Regions from separate parts of the Homo sapiens genome. Here region 2 is linked to region 1. Evidence: promoter capture Hi-C in human tissues and cell types (Jung and others, 2019). All regions are on one chromosome and are shown on one strand. The core of a region is centred on a gene start or on the middle of the fragment in contact, and the rest is flanking DNA. Distances in the headings are between cores, read along the strand shown. Region 1 holds the start of PVRIG (PVR related immunoglobulin domain containing). Region 2 has its middle 32 kb from the start of SPDYE3.

Region 1 (6,072 bases), core at 3,325-5,824:
ATCCAGCCAGGTGCGGTGGCTCACGCCTCTAATCCCAGCACTTTGGGAGGCTGACGCAGGCGGATCACGAGGTCAAGAGATTGAGACCATCCTGGCCAACATGGTGAAACCCCGTCTCTATTAAAAATACAAAAATTAGCCAGGCATGGTGGCACGTGCCTGTAATCCCAGCTACTTGGGAGGCCGAGGCAGGAGAATCACTTGAACCAGGAAGTCAGAGGTTGCAGTGAGCCGAGATCGCACCACTCCAGGCACTCCAGCCTGGTGACAGAGCAAGACTGTCTCAAAAAAAAAAAAAAAAAAAAAATCCTGTTGGAAAGTGAGGCAAGGCACAGGGTAGAGCTGGCCCCAGAGCCTCACTCTCCACCTCTCTGGCCTACCTTGCCCTGCCCTTGGGACAGCTGGAACCTCAGCAGTCACAGGGCTGCCTTCTGTGTCTCCCTCCAGAGCTGCCCTCCTCGGAGCACCTGAGTGTGGCGGATGCCACCTGGCTGGCCCTGAACGTGGTGTCCGGCGGTGGCAGCTTCTCCAGCTCCCAGCCTATTGGCATGACCAAGATCGCCAAGTCAGTCATCGCCCCACTGGCTGACCAGAACATATCCGTGTTCATGCTGTCCACGTATCAGACAGACTTCATCCTGGTGAGCTGACCATCACAGACACGCCTTGCACACTTGGGCCCGCCTCTGACACACTCACTCCCATCTCCCACCCCTTGCAGCCTTGCCCTTCCACGCTATTCCAGGGTGGGGGCAGAGTCTCAGGGTGAGAGGTTGGTGCCCCAGGGCCACCAGGCACACACAGCCTCAACTTCTTGCCCCTAGGTGCTCAAGCGGGACCTGCCCTTTGTCACCCACACGTTGTCATCAGAGTTCACCATCCTGTGGTCAGTGGCTAGACTGTAGCAGCCGAGAACCTCGGCATCACCAGTGGCTTCGTGAAGCCCAAGCTGGGTGAGCTGGGGGCGGGGGTTTGTGCGGGGAAACCTCACGAAGTTACCAGGCCAAGCCGTAGACCAGCCTTGCTCTCAGCACGGGCTTCTGCCCACTGAGCATGAATGGAGTGCCAGGCAGAACGGGATGCAAAGGGCAAGGTGTGGTGGCTCATGCTTGTAAACCCAGCACTTTGGGAGGCCGAGGCAGGCAATTCACCTGAGGTCAGGAGTTTGAGACAAGCCTGACCAACATGGAGAAACCTGGTCTCTACTAAAAATACAAAATTAGCTGGGTGTGGTGGTGCATATTTGTAATTCCAGCTACTGAGGAGGCTGAGGCAGGAGAATCACTTGAACCCAGGAGGCGGAGGTTGCGGTGAGCCGAGATTGTGCCATTGCACTCCAGTCTGGGCAACAAGAACAAAACTCCATCTCAAAAAAAAAAAAATGTGATGGAAAGGTCCTGGGCAGGCCCTGCTGCCATGTCTAGCAAGGGTGGTGGACGTGCATGCATACAGCAATGGCCAGAGGCCACTCCTGCTGCAATCCCAGGTGTCAGGGTGGGTTTCCCTGGGCAGGGACTGTGGTGCTGAAGCCTGGAACACAGGTAGGAACGGGGCCAGGTGGTGCCAGTTGGGAAGGGCATCCCAGGCAGCCAGCACAGCATGTGCAAAGGCCCAGGGGCCTGAGAGTGAGATGGAGAATCAGGACGGTGGTAATTGGTGGTAGAGGCTGGAGAAGCAGCAGTGAATGAGTCTCTCAGGGCCTGCGGCTGAGCCCTCCCCAGCCCTCTTCCCAGGCCCTGCACTCACCAGAGCTGCTGCTTTCAGTCCCAGCCTCAGTGCCTGACATCTTTGTGCTCTTACAGTCCAGATGCCGGTCATCCACCCACTGTCCAGCCCGAGCAACAGGTTCTGTGTCACCAGCCTGGACCCCGACACGCTGCCTGCTGTTGCCACACTCCTCATGGATGTCATGTCCTACTTCAATGGGTAGGGCTGCCTTGGGCATGAGGGGTCGCCGGCTGGACCAGGGGGAGGCACGGCTCTGCCTAGGAGTCTTAGTCTGACGGGGGAGGCTTTGCCAGGAGCTCATCTGAGGGAAGAGACACAGACCTTCCCTGGAGCTAGTCTGAGCGGGGAGACATGGACCCACCCCGGAACTAATCTGAGTGGGAAGGCAAGGACCCGTTCCAGAGCTAGTCTGAGCGGGGAGACAAAGACCCGCCCCAGAACTAGTCTGAGGTGGGAGACATGGACCTGCCCTGGAGCTAGTCTGAGGTGGGAGACACAGACCCGCCCCGGAGCTAGTCTGATGGGGGAGACACGGACCCGCCCCAGAGCTAGTTTAAATGGGGAGACACAGACCTGCCCTGGAGCTAGTCTGAGGTGGGAGACATGGACCTGCCCCAGAGATAGTCTGAAGGGGGAGACACGGACCAGCCCCAAAGCTGGTCTGAGGTGGGAGACAGGGACCCACCCTGGAACTAGTTTGGGGTGGGAGACACGGACCCGCCCTGGAACTAGGCTGAGGGGGAGACACAGCTCTACCAAGCAGAAAGGTTGGCTCTGGATGGAACATTTTGTGGGGAGTCCCCCATGTCTGTGAAGGCCTCTGCCTTCCCCGAGAGGAGGCGGGGGAAGTGATTGAGGGAAGATTTCAGGTGAGTCCCCCTACTCTCCACACCCTGCCTAACGCCAGCTGTGGAAGGAGGGCATCAGGACCCCAGCCCAGGCCACAGCAGGGAGCCCAGCAGAGGGAAGCCAGGTCAAACCACAGGGACTTCTCTCAGGCCAAAGCCCCAGGAACCCTTGCTGTTGTCCTAGAACATGGTGGGATTGGAGCAGAGACCATCCCACTGGGATCCCCCAGCCCTATCTAGGCAGCCACAGGTGTCCCTCAGGAAGCTCCCCCAACACCCCTGCCACTCTGAGAAGCCAGGACAGATCTCTAAGATTGGGACACTGCCCTCTCCCTGGGCCAACCCCAGCCCTGCAATGAGGCCCCAACCCACTCTGGTTCTCACCTGGCTTCTGCCTCCCAGGGGTGGAGACTGCCTCCCCACTCTCTTCACCCCCAAAGAAGAAGCACAGCCGAGGCCGACATCAGAGAAACTGTGTTGCTGACTTAGTTGCAGCAGGAAATGACTGAAATGGGGTAACTGTCACTCACACACTCACACCTGTGCCCACACACGCACACACAGAGACCACATCCGCAGCAGGTGGGCCTGGCCAGACACCTATGGGACACTTATTGGAGGCCCAAGAATTAAAGTAAGGGGGTGACACCCAGGAGGCCTGGGAGGGGGAAAGCCCAGTGGCCTCATGGTCTCTCTCATCGAACTCCTAAGGGTCCTTCCATGGCCCTGGGCCCCCGAGGGTCAGGGAAAAGAGTGAGGCCGGGACCAGTGTGAGGAGGCCTCTCCCCTGCCTGAGCGTAGAGTCCATTCTCAACAGAGACAAAGCTGCCACGTGCAGGGATGGGTGTGGAGGCCCAGGCGGCAGGGCCCTGGGGCCGGTGTGCAGCGTGGGTGGGGAGTGACGCCCACCAGGACGGCCCCCCATGGGGGTGAGCTGTGTCCAAAGTAGCTGGGCGGCAGCTGGTGTTGATAGTGGCATAAGGGACGTGAAGAGCAGCCTGGGAGGCCTGGCTTGGTGCCTGCGCGGGGGAAGGAGGGTCAAGTGAGTCTGCACAGCTTGGGCCCAGCCCTGGCCCCCCTGCCCCTGCCCCTGTCACCTCATCCCCAAAGCAGGTCCCCTCCTCACCCATGCTCGTGCTCTCGGTGCCTGGGGGCTGGTGCGGGACGGCTGGAGCCTAGGGGCAGGGCTGGGAGAGAGCAAGGATGGTCAGAGCTCTGCAGGGCATGTGGCCATCCCAGTGTCAGGGGGACGTGGACAGGGACCAGGTCTCACCGGTGCTTATGTCGGCGCAGCAGATGAAGGAGGTAGACACAGCCAAAGAGGAGGACTCCTGAGACCCCCAAGATCCCGGCCAGGTCTGCCCGCAGAATGGGGGCAGGAGTCGGCGGGGCAGAGAGCCCTGGGCACGGAGACAAGAATCAGATGGGTGGCCAGTTCCCGAGCCCCTCCCTGCCCTCCTGGACCCCTCGCCCCGGCCCCACCTGGGTCTGAGCTGGGCGGGAGGCTCCCACAGGCCTCCCAGGAGCCCTCAGGGAAGGACGCAAACTTGCAGCAGAAGGTGGTGTTGGCGCAGGGGCTGCTGGCCCCAGAGCCTTCCAGGATGAGAGAGATGCTGCTCTGGGTTTCCCAGCGGGCCTGGCGAGCAGGGGCCCATTGCCGGATGCCACGTTCTGGGTGCAACACAGCCAGCGTGGTCCCCCCAGCACCGTTGGGGCCCCCCCAGCTCACAGTCACCAGGGAGATGGAGCCAGACCCCAGGAACCCACAACGGATGGTGAAGGACGAGAGCTCGGTGGCCTCCATCCGAACTTGAACCCACACCTCCGGGGTCCCTGTGGAACAGCAGCAAGGTCGGTGGGCTGTTGTCCTACATCACCCTCCCTGCAGCCCCTGCCCCTCTCTGGTGCCGGCACTCACCCGCAGTGACACACAAGGTCAGCAGCACCCAGGGCAGGACCAGGGTCCGGTGCCCCATGGCCCCCTCCAGTCCAGGTTCTGGGGGCTGCAGGGCCGGCACCTGTGCCTCTGTTCTCATCGCAGGAAGTCTTCATGTTGTCAGCAGCCAAACAGCCACTTCCTTCTCTCCTCTCACACCTTCCCCAGAGGTGGTGAGCACAAAGTGGCTGATTCCCTTCTTAAAGTGACAGTGAGGGCCTGCTCAGTCCCCAAGGCTGTGCTTCCAGGTAACAAGGCAGGGCGGCACAGGTGGGTGAGAACCCAGCCCTGGCTAGGCCTGGGGAGGCCAGGGGAGGGGCAGAGAAGCTGTCAGGGGCTAGAAGGACTCCCCTTCCCTGGACAGCAAGGGGTGCCGGGCTTCCCTAAGAAAGGGCTCTGTCCCGCCCCTCACCCAGCTAAGGAATCGGAGGAGAAAGCCCCTGGGAGTGGGAAGCCAGCAGGGAGGACCTGAGAGCCAGCCCAGCATGCATGACCCACTACCAATCTGATGTGGGTCCCACGCTTACACCTGCAATGCAGGCCTCCCCCACAACCCCCAGCCTGGCTCGCCCACTACCCACTCATACCTCCTGATCTACCCTGAACGCACCCCATACTGGGCTCTGCCCCAGGCGCTGTCTCCTCGTCATAGGTGATGGCAACTGGCTTCTGGCTGCTCGGGCCCAAAGCACAGCCACCAGTGCCTCTTCCCTTTCACTTCCAACGCACCAAGATTGTGTCAGCAAACAGCAGTCCTCTGCCCTAGCAGTGCAGAAGCCAGGAGTTGAACCCATGTCTCTCACCAGGTTAAGCTGCCTCGCTAAGTTTGGATGTGACCTCAGAAACAGAGGCTACTCCAGCAATACAAGATACTTTATTTTTCGGCTTCTACCTATGCCACCCAATCCCTTCACTGGGCCTAACTTAGTGAATCAAATTAAGTATATTTCCCTCCAAGTTGCCCCAGGATTCTGGGCTCCTTTGCACACTACAGGTTTTCTCTAAACGCCCTGGGTTTATCTATCCTTTGGTGAATTTTCAACTCTTCTTATTTCTCTGCCCTGTCCTGACCAAAAATCTTCAGTGCCTGTTTCTCTCTGCCATCCAAATCCCACACACATCTAGGGGTGAATCGGTGAATCTGCGCTGATGAGTGACACGTTTTGTGAATCCTTTCTAGGATCTCAGTATTTCATCCTATCCCGAGGGAAGGCTCTAAAGAGCTCAAGGAAGACCTCACGATGTCTATGTGTGAGAAGAAACCTTTCACCCCTTCACTATCACACCCCATCATCCAAGCACACACTCCTCTTTCATCCCATAAACCCCAGTCAGTGTCACCTGGAGTTATAAGGATGCGGTGACTTACCTAGTAACGGAAGACTCTCAGTAATCTGAAAAAGAAAAATCCCTTCACTTTATAACTGAGGAGATAACACCAACAAGTCACTTCCAGCAGAGCTCATGGCCACAGTGCAAGTTAAAAAAGGTAAAGCCTTATTGAAAATAATCTTAAAACAATTATTCAATATTAACAGACAATGCCCAGCAGTGCCATGT
Region 2 (5,347 bases), core at 91-2,590, 57 kb before region 1:
TATTTTATAGAGACAAGGTTTCACTGTATTGGCCAAACTTGTCACAAACTCCTGGCCTCGAGCGATCCTCCCACCTTGGCCTCCCAAAGTGCAGAGATTACAGACATGAGCTATAGTACCTGGCCAAAAAGCTTAATTTTAAAACATTGAAAAGAGAACAGGATCTTTTGGAAAGCTGAAGAAATAAAGTCTAGGCTTAAAGTTCTAGGACCCTTACCCAGCACCGTGGGGCAGAACTGGCCTGATAAGAAAATGAAGCTGTGGGCCAGGCACAGTGGCTGACGCCTGTAATCCCAGCACTTTGGGAGGCTGAGGTGGGTGGATCACTTAAGGTCAGGAGTTCGAGACCAGCCTAGCCAACATGGTGAACCCCCATCTCTACTATACAAAAATTAGCTGGGTGTGGTGGTGGGCGCCTGTAGTCCCAGCTACTTGGGAGGCTAAGGCATGAGAATCACTTGAATCCAGGAAGCGGAGATTGCAGTGAGCCAGGATCACACCACTGAACTCCAGCCTGGGCAACAGAGCGAGACTCTGTCTCAAAAAAAAAAGAGAGAGAGAGGGAGAGAGGCAGGCAGGCAGGCAGGCAGGCAGAAAGAAAATGAAGCTGTGGCAGCTTCCACAGCCACACCTTCTCCAGGACTTCACGTTTCTAAATGGCGAGTTGTATTTTCCCAAAATGGCTGCAATAGTAACTTCATCCAACATGCTCTTCCACAAAGTAACTTTGTCACTCCTCCATCAAGAAGCAGGGTCTATGACCCTGTCTTAATCTATTTTTGTTGCTATAAAGGAATACCTGAGGCTGGGTGATTTATAAAGGAAAGAGGTGTATTTGGCTCGTGGTTCTGCAGGCTGTGCAAGAAGCATGGTGCCAGCATCTGCTGCTAGTGAGGACCGCAGGAAGCCTCCTATCATAGTGGAAGATGAAGGCGGGCCGACAAGATCACGTGGTGAGCAACAGACATGCCAGGTTCTTCTAAAGATCCAGCTCTCATGTGAATAGAGCAAGAATTCACTCATTACCACAGGGAGGGCACCAAGCCATTCATGAGGCATCTGCCCCCATGACCCAAACACCTCCCACTTGGCCTCATCTCCAATATTGGGGATCACATTTCAACACGAGATTTAGAGGGGACAAATATTCAGACTATATCAGCCCCCTCCCCTAACTCAAGCTGGGGTTGCACCTGTTTCAACCCAGAGAATACCATGCAGGTGACATCCCTATGATTTCTTTTTTTGTGTGTTGTTTTGAGATGGAGTCTTGCTCCGTTGCCCAGGCTGGAGTGCAGTGGCACAATCTCGGCTCACTGCAACCTCTGCCTCCTGGGTTCAAGCAATTCTCATGCTTCAGCTCCCGAGTAGCTGAGACTGTAGACATGCACCAGCACGCCTGGCTAATTTTTGTATTTTTAGCAGAGACAGAGTTTCACCATCTTGACCAGGCTGGCGTCAAACTCCTGGCCTCAAGTGATCTGCCCGCCTCAGCCTCGCAAAGTGCTGGGATTATAGGCACGCACCACCACACCCAGCTAATTTTTGTATTTTTAGTAGAGACAGAGTTTCACCATGTTGGCCAGGCTGGTGTCAAACTCCTGGTCTCAAATGATCCGCCCAACTCAGCCTCTCAAAGGGCTGGGATTACAGGCTTGAGCCACCGCATCCAGCAGTCACCGCACCCAGCTTGATTTCTGAGGTTAAGTCATAAAAGGCCATGTGGCTTCCAGCTGACTTTCTTGGCACATTTGCTCTCCAGACTCTCCCTGCAATGTCCTCTCTGGGAATCCAGCTGCCAAGCTGTGAGAAGCCCTAGCCCCATGGAGAGAGGCACCCATCAACCAGGCTTCAGACACAGAGTAAAGAAGCTTCCAGGCAACCCCAGCCCCCAGGCATCCAAATCACCGCCAGCATTCAAGCCTTTCCAAGTAAAGGCCAGATACCACAGAGCAAAGACAAACTTCTCACAGGCCCTGTCTGAATTCACAACCTATAGAATTCGTGAGTTCAGGCCAGGCACGGTGGCCCACACCTGTAATTCTAACACTTTGGGAGGCAGAGGTGGGAGAATCACTTGGGATCAGGAGTTTGAGACCAGTCTGGGCAACATGATGAAACCCCATCTCTACCAAAAAATACAAATATTAGCCAGGTGTGGTGGTGTGTGCCTGTAGACCCAGCTACTTGTGAGGCTGAGATAGGAGGATCGCTTGAGCCTGCAGGGAACCGTGATGACGCCACTGCACTCCAGCCTGGGTAAGAGTGAGACCCTGTCTCAAAAAAAAAAGTAGAATTCTCCCAGCACTTTGGGAGGCCGAGGCAGGCAGATCATCTGAGATCAGGACTTTGAGACCAGCCTGGCCAACATGGTGAAACCCCATCTCTACTAAAAATACAAAAAAATTAACTGGGCATGGTGGTGTGCACCTGTAATCCCAGCTACTCGGAAGGCTGAGGCATGAGAATTGCTTGAGGCGGAGGTTGCAGTGACTGAGATTGTGCCACGGCACTCCAGCCTGGGTGATGGAGTGAGGCTTCATCTCAAAAAAAAAAAAAAAAAAAGAATTCATGAGTTAATATAATGTCATTTCCTATTTTCCTTCCTTCCTGCTTTTTCTTTCTTCCTCTTTCTTTTTCTTTCTTTCTTTTTCTTTCTCTTTCTCTCTCTCTCTTGTTTTCTTTCATCTTTCTTTTCTTTCTTTCTTTCATCTTTCTTTTCTTTCTTTGGCTTTTCATTTCTTTCTTTTGTCTTTCTTTTCTTTCATTCTTTCTTTTTGACAGGGTCCTGCCTGGCTGCCCAGACAACAGTGCAGTGGTGCTATCACAGCTCACTGCAGCCTTGAACTCCTCAGTTCCAGTGATTCTCCTGCCTCAGCCTCCCAAGTAGTTGGGACAACAGGCATGTGCCACCATCCCCAGCTTTTTTTTTTTTTTTTTTAATGTTTTAAGACAGGATCTTGCTAGTCACAAACTCCTGGTCTCAAGCAATCCTCCCATCTCAGCCTCCCAAGTTGTTGGGATTACAGGCATGAGCCACCGTGCTTAGAGGCATAAGCCACTGCACCGGGCTATTTTGTCATTTTTCTCCACTAAGTGTGAGCTATGTAGTATATAGTAATTGTTACCAGACAAATCCCTGCTGCCTTCTCTGAAATCCCATCCATGCACCTTTTGCTCACTTCTGAACCTGAGCCATACACAGGTGTGATGTGCCTGCATCTTAGCCACAGGGAGGCTGCAGAAGCTCACCTTGTGAAGACAGGGCTTGTGACATGGGAAATCATCAAAATCTATGCTGGGTGGCCGCCATGCACAGAAGGCCACTAGGTCAGACGAAGTGTGGACTAACAGTAGCCTGTAACAGAAGGGACCTCCCCTCATCGCACCCTGCCCCATCATGATTTGAACCTCTCTAGAACCTGCCATGTTGAATTGGGTGCTGACTTCACTCTGCTTTTTTTTTTTTTTTTTTTTTTTTTGAGACAGAGTCTCACTCTGTTGCCCAGGCTGGAGTGCAGTGGCATGATCTCGGCTCACTGCAACCTCTGCCTCCCAGGTTTAAGCAATTCTCCTGCCTCAGCCTCCTAAATAGCTGGGATTATAGGTGCCCGCCACAACACCAAGCTAATTTTTTTGTATTTTTAGTGGAGGTGGGGTTTGGTTTCACCATGTTGGCCAGGCTGGTCTCAAACTCCTGAACTCAAGTGATCCGCCTGCCTCGACCTCCCAAAGTGCTGCCAAAATATTAGCATTTTGGCCAGGCACAGTGGTTCACATCTGTAATCCCAGCACTCTGTGAGGCTGAGGCAGGCAGATCACCTGAGGTCAGGAGTTCGAGACAAGCCTGGTCAACATGGTGAAACCCCGTCTCTACCAAAAATACAAAAATTAGCTGGGCATGATGATGCGCACTTGTACTCAGGAGGCTGAGGCAGGAGAATCGCTTGAATCCGGGAGGCAGAGGTTGCAATGAGCCAAGATCGTGCTGCTGCACTCCAGCCTGGGCGAGGGAGCAAGACTCCATTTCAAAAAAAAAAAAAAAAGGCCGGTGTGGGGGCTCATGCCTGTAATCCCAACACTTTGGAGGCCGAGGCGGGCAGATCACTTGAGGTCAGGGGTTCCAGACTAGCCTGGCCAACACAGTGAAACCCTGTCTCTGCTATAAAAAAATTAGCTGGGCGTGGTAGCGCATGCCTGTAATCTCAGCTACTCAGGAGGCTGAGGCAGGAGAATCACTTGAACACAGGAGGCAGAGGTTGCAGTGAGCCAAGATTGCGCCACTGTACTCCAGCCTGGGTGACACAGTGAGACTCCATCTCAGAAAAAAAAAAAAGTGTTTCAACATATAATCAATATTTTTAAATTATTAATAAAATAAAGTTTTTTCATAATAATCTTTGCAATCCAGGGTTCATTTTACACGATAGCACATCTCAGTTTGGATGCTCAATTTTCATTCACAATACTCGATCTGTATTTAGAGTTCATAGATTTACATAAGTAAATCGTTTCAAAGTCCTGTGACCAACTTGTCTTCCTGGAGAGTGTCCTGGTTTCGAAAATGAAAGTCTTACATCTTGAAATTCTCCTTGGTCCCAGGAAAATCAGGGCAGTTGGTCAACCTCTTCCAAACATACTTGGAGATTTTTCTTTCTTTTTTTTTTTTGTTTCTTTGAGACATAGTCTCACTCACTCTGTCGCCCAGGCTGGAGTGCAGTGTCGCCATCTTGGCTTACTGCAACTGCCATCTCCCAGGTTGAGGTGATTCTCCTGCCTCAGCCTCCCTAGTAGCTGGGATTACAGGCACATGCGACCGTTCCCAGCTAATTTTTTTGTAATTTTAGTAGAGACGGGATCTCACCATGTTGACCAGGTTAGTCTTGAACTCTTGACCTCAAGTGATCTGCCCAACTCAAGCCTCTCAACATGCTGGGATGATAGGCGTGAGCCACTGCACCCAGCTGGGTTTTGTTTTTTGGTTTGTACTGTGTTTGTTTTGTTTCTTCGAGATGAACTCTCACTCTATTGCCTAGGCTGGAGTCAGTGGTGCAATCTCAGCTCACTGCAACCTCCGCCTCCCAGGTTCAAGCGATTCTCCTGCCTCAGCCTCCTGAGTAGCTGAGATTACAGTCACTCACCAGCATGCCCTGCTAACTTTTGTATTTTTAGTAGAGGCAGGGTTTCACCACGTTGACCAGGCTGGTCTCAAATTTCTGACATCAGGCGATCCACCTGCCTCAGCCTCCCGAAGGCTTCTGTCCTTCAACCGCGCGCCCTCACTCCCTTGCTACGAACTCCCATTCATCCTTCAAAACCCAGCCTGAGTGTCCCCCTCCCCCCAGGT

The links. The method cuts DNA at HindIII sites, captures the fragments that hold promoters and counts their contacts. A contact is called where the count stands out against the background at its distance.
Region 2: a contact is called between a fragment that was not itself captured here and the fragment with the promoter of PVRIG in region 1, in 1 of the 25 tissues and cell types used here (adrenal gland).

What each region holds. Positions count from the first base shown.
Region 1 is chr7:100,218,451-100,224,522 of GRCh38, reverse strand. PVRIG (PVR related immunoglobulin domain containing) reads right to left here and starts at 4,574. Exons shown (of 5, transcript NM_001397246.1): 1 at 4,495-4,574; 2 at 4,059-4,409; 3 at 3,850-3,976; 4 at 3,703-3,763; 5 at 3,033-3,595. The coding sequence starts at 4,552. The coding sequence ends at 3,272. It also overlaps a transcript of STAG3 not described here and the pseudogene CASTOR3P. RefSeq lists enhancers at 2,815-2,914, 2,935-3,034, 4,425-4,494, 4,555-4,684 and a silencer at 3,455-3,504. The HindIII fragment of the contact is 32,066 bases long and covers 1-6,072 here.
Region 2 is chr7:100,272,659-100,278,005 of GRCh38, reverse strand. No RefSeq gene overlaps it. Among named protein-coding and RNA genes, the nearest start is that of SPDYE3, 32 kb to the left of the region's middle. The HindIII fragment of the contact is 4,585 bases long and covers 1-3,632 here.